Regions from separate parts of the Homo sapiens genome. Here region 2 is linked to region 1. The links are contacts of gene promoters, found by promoter capture Hi-C in blood cells and fetal thymus (Javierre and others, 2016). All regions are on one chromosome and are shown on one strand. Each heading gives the region's core, a stretch centred on a gene start or on the middle of the fragment in contact. The rest is flanking DNA. Distances are from core to core; before and after follow the strand shown. Region 1 holds the start of SRP72 (signal recognition particle 72). Region 2 overlaps EXOC1-AS1 (EXOC1 antisense RNA 1).

Region 1 (3,552 bases), core at 389-2,888:
GGTTTGAGCTGTGAGAAGCTAATATCACAGCTGATCTGACAGGAGCTCAGGCGGTACTGCTCACTGGCCCACCGATCACCTACTGCTGTGCCGCCCGGTTCCTAACAGGCTGCAGACCAGTACAAGGGTTGGGGACCCCTGTTCTAAGAGGATGCAACCAGAAGGCTGCCCAGTCTGCAAGATCAAATGTTTCCTCAAAGTAACTTTCAACGTATAACCAGAAAGACTGAAAGACAAAAAGTAGTTAGCAAGGCCGGGCACGGTGGCTTACGCCTGTAATCCCTGTACTTTGGGAGGCTGAGAGAGGGCGGATCACTTGAGGTCAGGAGTTTGAGACCAGCTTGGCCAACACAGTGAAACCCCATCTCTACTAAAAATTCAAAAATTAACCGGGCGTGGTGGCTCATGCTACTTGGGAGGCTGAGGCAAAAGAATCGCTTTAACCCAGGAGGTGGAGATTGCAGTGAGGTTCATCCTGGGTCACAGAGCTAGACTACGTCTCAAAAAAAAAAAAAAAAAAAAAAAAAAAAAGCTAGGTTCCTGAGGGACACAGGAAGTAGTAGAAGTTGTAAAGGTCATGACGAGATATGAGTCTGAAGAGCAGGCCATTCAATGAAATACAACATTCACATCAAGTGAATCACTCACATCGTCTTGGTGTGGTGGCTCATGCCTGTAATCCCAGCACTTGGGGAGGCTGTGGTGGGAGGATTGCTTGAGCCCAGGAGTTCCAGACCAGCTTGGGCAACACGGCAAGATCCCCGTCTCAAAAAAAAAAAAAAATCACTCACATCAAGTGTACCCAACAGATATCCATTCCCTTCGTACATCTGAACACATCTTGATATTAACGGTCGCAAGCAAACCCTAATATTTTATATCTCTAGAACAAATATAGTATCCCCATTTCACAATCGGGAAAACAGACTCCCAGAAGCTAAGTAACTTGTTTATTGTCAGACATCTAGTGAGTCGCAGAGCCAGGGAACTGACCACGGGCATTTTCACCCCATTACCCTTCCAGCTTATTGCCGACTGCTCCCGAAGGGAGCGAAAAGGACAGGCAAAGGGTTTCACCAAACCCTTTGTAATGGGAGATTCTTGCCTTCTTACCTTTCCTCACGTTTGCTTCTCTGCCAGAATGTCTTCCCGCACTTTCCCCAGAACCCAAGTTCTCCTAATCATCTTTCAAGATCCCTTTCCCTCAACCACAGATGAGCCGTGCCTATTTCTCCTTCAAATGACTCCCTATGGCTTCTAGTTGGTAGTCTTTTATTTACCACCTCATAGTCCTTTTATTTATATCCCATAAATGATCGTCCGGCCCCGCACCGTGGGACCAGGACGCTGCCTCGACCATGGCGGTCTCCTGGAAACAGGCTGCTTTGAGCCGAAACTGGTGACCGTTTCCCAACCCCGTCCAGGAGTCCGACGCCTCTTTTCTCCAGGCCAACTTCAAGTGAGGTGTATCAACTCTATCCGCACAAATTTCTTGCCACGAGAGCAGAAGATTATGATCTCTGATGCTGCCTTAGGGCTGAAGACACTCCCAACTCGGCGACGCTTAGCAATCATCGACTTCCTCCTCCTCTTGGCTGCCTCGGAGATCCTGTTCCGGGGCAGAGGTCTCCCCGCCCCGCCCCTCGTCTCCTCCAAGATGGCGAGCGGCGGCAGCGGGGGGGTGTCAGTACCTGCGCTGTGGAGTGAAGTGAACCGGTATGGCCAGAACGGCGACTTCACGCGCGCTCTCAAGACCGTCAATAAGAGTAAGTGTCGGGGTGGGCACTGGGGCGGGCCCAGGCCGGCTGGAGGATGCGGCCTGTTTCCGGCGCGCGAGACCACCTCGCGCGGGAGGCACGGGAAGGGGAGACCCCCGAAACCCCCCCGTCTATTGTCCGCCCGGCTCGGGCCCTAGCGCCCGGAAGACGCAGGTCTCACTCCTCGGCTTCACCAGGCCAGCCTGGGGTCCCTGGTTGCTTACAGCCACGTGTACTTCTCTTTTTACCCTCCGCGGGAAGCGAGGGAAGGTTTTAAAGAGACCGCAGCTCCCGGAGTCCATTTCAAACTGTTTTCTTATTTGACTCCTTTGCTGCTTTATTTCACAAATATTCCAAAGTGCCTCCTTTTCTTCTTCGTCTTGAGCGCAGTGATCAGGACTCTATTGCTGAGGGAGCTTGTTCTCTTTGGCCGCTAAAGGGGGAGGAACCTGCTTGGGACACGTAGTTTAGAGGCTGGTGCTAACCAGGTGGAAGCTGTACGGGTTCTACGGGGCGAGAGGAAAGGGCTGGATCTGGATGTCAGGCCTGTCATTCCCATAGATGAGATCTCTTCAGTGTTATTAAGTTAGGAAATATGTGTGTGGAAGCACCAACACTTGAAATAATGTCGGAAGAAAAGTTTGGCCTGTTTTTTTGCCCTGTAAGGGATGATTTCGGTTTTTACCGCCTTTGGTGTGAGGTTTAATTCATCATATTCTTTTGTTCCTTACTACATACCTGGAATATGGCCATGCTGCTTAATGTTCTCGGTGGTGCGCAGTTCTTCTCTACTGAAGATACAGCCTGTGCATGTTAGATTTGGAAATGTAATTACCAAGGCAGGGCTTAGCTGTTCAGAGTAGCAGTAACCTAAAAGGTGTGTCAGTAACATGCAAAGCTATCTAAGTAATTTTCAACACTCTAGTACTGGGTTAACGTGAAAAGTAGTGATTGTGCCCACAGTGCACTTTTGGTGATTTCAGACATTGAGGAAAATAGCTACGAATTAGAATTATTTGATCCCTAAATTTGTTTGAATTAACTCTAGCCTTCCAACCAGTACTGTATACTTAGTATAGTATTTTGCAGGAATTCTTTAATCAGCAAAGATTGTCAACTTGTTTACCAGTATGTTTTCTTAATTGGTAGAAATTCTTGTGATTCTTTGAGAATTGGACTTCTGTAGTTGCACAGGAGCAAGAGTAACTATGATCCTGGTCATTTTAACACCGAACAGTTGTTAGCGTTGAAACTTGCCACCTGAGTTCTTCCTTATACTTTGGTCATCTTAGTTGAAAAGGGGAAATTTTAATGATTTTTGGAAACGTTGCCAGCAAGATAAATTGCCTTTGTATTATACTTTATAAGATTTTTCCAAAATATTCATTTCATATTGTCAGTAACCTTATTAAATAGGTAATGCTTTTCTAATCATTTTGTAGCTAAGAAAACTGAGATTTGGCTGTTAAGTGATATGCCCAATACCTCAAAGCATTTAGTGGCAAGCTTGCACCAAACCTAGGTCATTTGCTTCCAAATTCTACCTGAACTTTTTCCCTGTGAAGTAATGAACTATGTAGAATGTAGCATGCATTTCAAGATGAAATATCTGGAGAAATTGCTTCTTTCTTCTTTATTTCACTGCACTTTTTTGGTACATGTATATTGGGAATCTTTATCTCATTGAAAATTTAATCTATAACTCTCCTTATTGTCACTTCTTAAGTTAAAAGCAAAGATTAGTTGTTTTCTGGGTTTGTTTTGTTTTGTTGCTGTTTCTTCCAGTTGTTCTGAC
Region 2 (3,552 bases), core at 679-3,178, 530 kb before region 1:
CTTGCTTCCAGCTGAGTGGGACTGCTGGCCCCACCTAACAGGGGACCACAGAACTCTTACCCTGCTCTATCCAGGGGGAAATTAAGAAGTCTGGACTTATTTCTTGTAGGATGATGTCTGGGGCTTCAGGCAACATAGCCATTTGTAGCTTGATAGATTCTAAACATGAAGAAATAAATCTGGTTAGCAAATTTACAGTGTAAGGGCCAAAAATGAACAACCGAAGAATTACAGTTAAGGGTCCTGTAAAATGGGCTATCCAACTTTTTGCAGTTGTTTAAACAGAATTTAGGGTGTTTTGTGCAGTTCATAAATTGGTTATATTAGTTGCCTCAGTCAGATGTCCCACTACCTTGCCTGAGGAGTTAATATAGAAACAACATTCTTCTTTTCGAAAAATGCATAATCCCCTCCGATTAGCTTCGAGGAGACCTAGCCCCCTCCTGTTTTGTAAGACAATGCCTGCCTGGGAATCTATATGTCATTGTTCTTGGATAGCTGCTGTAATTTCTGCCAAAGCCTGTGTTTGTTGTGAAGACAAGTGAAGAGAAATGGACCCAAGTGTGGTTCCTAAAAGTCCTGTTATTGCAGTTGCTAAAGGATGTAATACTGCTGGAACTGCCCTTTTTACAAATGCATGGCTGTGTCTTATATGGAATGGGAATTTTGTACTAGCATTTGCATAAGACAGTCTTGGAAGTAAAGCAGTGATGCCGCAAGTCCCTTTCCATTGGCTCAGAAGACTCATGTACCCTGAATTTCCACATATGAAATAAACTCTTGCCCAGGGTCCAAAGATACTTCATATCCCCATGATGCTAGTTCCAAAGGTGTGTCTGAGCCACTAGAGGAAGTTCCAGTGAGTTGTTCCCATAAAAGTGTTCCAGCCACAGCAAGTTATGCATTAAGCCTAGAGTGGAAAGATAAGCCGAGGTGGAATTTTAAGAATGATCTTTGGACCCCCCAAGCCAAAGCTTGAGCTAGAGGCAAAGATGAATTGTTGATTAACACTGTGGTCCAACCAGTGGAAATATTGGAAGAATTGGTATTACTTGTATATTGAGGTCGCCTTGGATCAGGATACTTAAGGAGGAGGAATTGTTTTTATTTTCCTAGTTTGCAATATGAATTGATTTTTGTTTCTGAGGAATTATAATGTTTCTCTTGATTTGTCCAACTGAGGACAACCTCATATAAACAATTGTTTAGGGATCCCAGAAAGGTCCCATTCGTTTGGTGGGAAGTGAAACAAATTGGGAATTGGCTGTCTGAGGTTAGGTTGTGAAAAACCCTTACAGGATTTGGGGCATTTGTAAAATTTAAATTTGGGTTGTTTCTTATGATCTGAGATAAGACTGTTAGGAATAAGCTTTCCACAGCTGGACTGGGATATGTAACTTCTGACTGGGTGGCAACAGTGACTCTGGCATTGACCTTGACTATATCTTCTAATGGTAATGGTAAAACTTCAGCTGATAGTGATCCTGAGGTACAAATGTAACAAGAAGTTAAGTTAGCGTGGCTAACTGTTGAATCTGTTTTAACACTTGGTATTGAAGCTGGACCCCCAATATTGGTGAAAATAGGATTATGGACATAAAAAGTGGTTCCATTGTGGGGGAAGCAAGCAGTTAAATGATAAATATATATAAATAACTAGGATTACTTACTCCACGGTAACTATGCAACAAAGACACCAGCAAAGTCAGTAGGGATTTACCTATCTTTTGGATGCCTTTTAAACAGGTACTTCAGATCCTCCACAGGTTCACAGGGTAGCGACTGATGGGAGCTTTGGGTTCCAGGTCTGGAGCTTTAGGTATTGCAGGCTTGACCCTGGAAAGATGTATCCAACTATTTAATCCTAACACGTTAACTGCAGAGGGTGGTTATTATAACTTAAAAAGGTCCCTTCCATTGGGTTGTAGCTGCTGAGCAGGTGACCCCTCTTTCCATGTTTTAATAAGTACTCTATCTCCTGACCTAATCTTGGGTTGCTGGTTAGTTCCTCGTATGGAAAGCCTTTCATTCCAGAACCTTTGTAATGCTTGTTGAAATTTTCTCAGATTAATTAGGTATTTTATTAGCCCAGATGTTTCTGGATTAGTTATTCGATCATTAGTTAAGAAGGGTCTCCAGCACAGCATTTCCTATGGGCTCATATTTACTTTTGCCCTTGAGGAGTTACAGAATCTCAAAAGGGGTACGGGTAGTAAACTGACCAAAGTTTCTGATGTTTCCTGGCATAGTTTAGCTAGTGCCCATTTTAGAGTTTGATTAGCTCTTTCTACTTTCCTGGAGGATTAAGGTCTCCATGCTGAACGTAAATAGTATTTAATTCTGAGCACCTTAGCCACCCCTTGAGTTATCTGGGAGACAAAGGATGGGCCGTTATCACTCTGGAGGCTTTGGGATAACTCAAACTGTGGAATTATTTATTTTAAGAGGACTTTTACACCTTCGTTAGCCTTTTCTGCTCTAGTAGGGTAAGCTTCAACTTAGCCTGTAAAGGTATCTATCAGTATTAGCAAAAAACTTGTATCATCTGCAAGCTGGCTCATGGGTAAAGTCCAAATGCCAGTCTTCCCCAGGGTAAGTTCCCCTTCTTTGGACTGGTTCCATTAGTGGAGGGATCTTGTTTCCTGGATTGTTAAATGCACACAGCAAGCAGCCTTGACAGACCTGCTTAGCTACTGAGGCTAAGTTAGACCCAATAAAGACCCTGTTTGCTATGGCCAGAGTGGCATCTCTCCCCATCTGGAAACAGTTGTGCAGGGTTTCTAATAACCTTCCATTGGGCTGCTTGAGGGATATATACTTTTGATCCCATATACTACCAAGATCCTTGTTTCTGTCCCCCTTGCTCCCTTATAATCCGTTCCTCCTGTGATGTGTATTCAGGTTCTACTGGGGAATCATAGAAGGGAAGCAGTGCTAAGATTTTTTGAGATTGCGCCTTGAAGTCCACTGCTTTTGCTTACCTGTCCGTCTTTTTGTTCCCTTGTGCTATAGGAGCTAAGGCCTTTGATACCCTCTACAATGGATTATAGCAATGGCTTTTGGCAAATGTATTGCCTCCAACAACTAGAGAATTTCAGGCCCATGCTCTACAGGCGAGTGGTTCCTAGTTAGTAGTCCTCTTTCTTTCCAAATTGCAGCATTAGCCTTAACCACAAGAAATACATATTTGGAGTCTGTACAGATATTAAGCTTTTTTCCTTTCCCCAATATCAGGACTCAGATAAGAGCAATTATTTCAGCTTTTTGTGCTGACATGCCTTGGGGATAGCAGTTGGACTTCAGTGATAGTGTTGTCATTTACTATTGTATATCCAGCCTGGCATTTCCCATTTGACGCAAAGCTGCTGCCATCTGTGAACCAGTCATTCTCTGAGTCTGGGAGTGGCCAATCTTTTAAATCAGGTCAGCTTACATATGTATGTGTGATGACCTGCTCACATGAATGACCAATTATTGGGCCTGTGGGCAGCAATAGAGCTGGATTCAGGGTATTATGCGTTTTAAGAATTACCTCTGGATTGTCTAGAAGTA

What was found. The method cuts DNA at HindIII sites, captures the fragments that hold promoters and counts their contacts. A CHiCAGO score of 5 or more calls a contact.
Region 2: a contact is called between a fragment that was not itself captured here and the fragment with the promoter of SRP72 in region 1, in 2 of 17 cell types (neutrophils and naive B cells). The highest score is 8.4, in neutrophils.

Annotation. Positions count from the first base shown.
Region 1 is chr4:56,465,979-56,469,530 of GRCh38, forward strand. It overlaps SRP72 (signal recognition particle 72), which reads left to right and starts at 1,639. Exons shown (of 19, transcript NM_006947.4): 1 at 1,639-1,766. The coding sequence starts at 1,658. It overlaps LOC124900706 (a long non-coding RNA gene), which reads right to left and starts at 1,580. Exons shown (of 2, transcript XR_007058126.1): 1 at 1,114-1,580. RefSeq lists an enhancer at 1,484-1,693. The HindIII fragment of the contact is 5,513 bases long and covers 1-3,261 here.
Region 2 is chr4:55,938,797-55,942,348 of GRCh38, forward strand. It overlaps EXOC1-AS1 (EXOC1 antisense RNA 1), which reads right to left. Exons shown (of 5, transcript XR_941069.4): 2 at 1,721-1,836; 3 at 61-159. Among named protein-coding and RNA genes, the nearest start is that of EXOC1-AS1, 7.4 kb to the right of the region's middle. The HindIII fragment of the contact is 1,122 bases long and covers 1,368-2,489 here.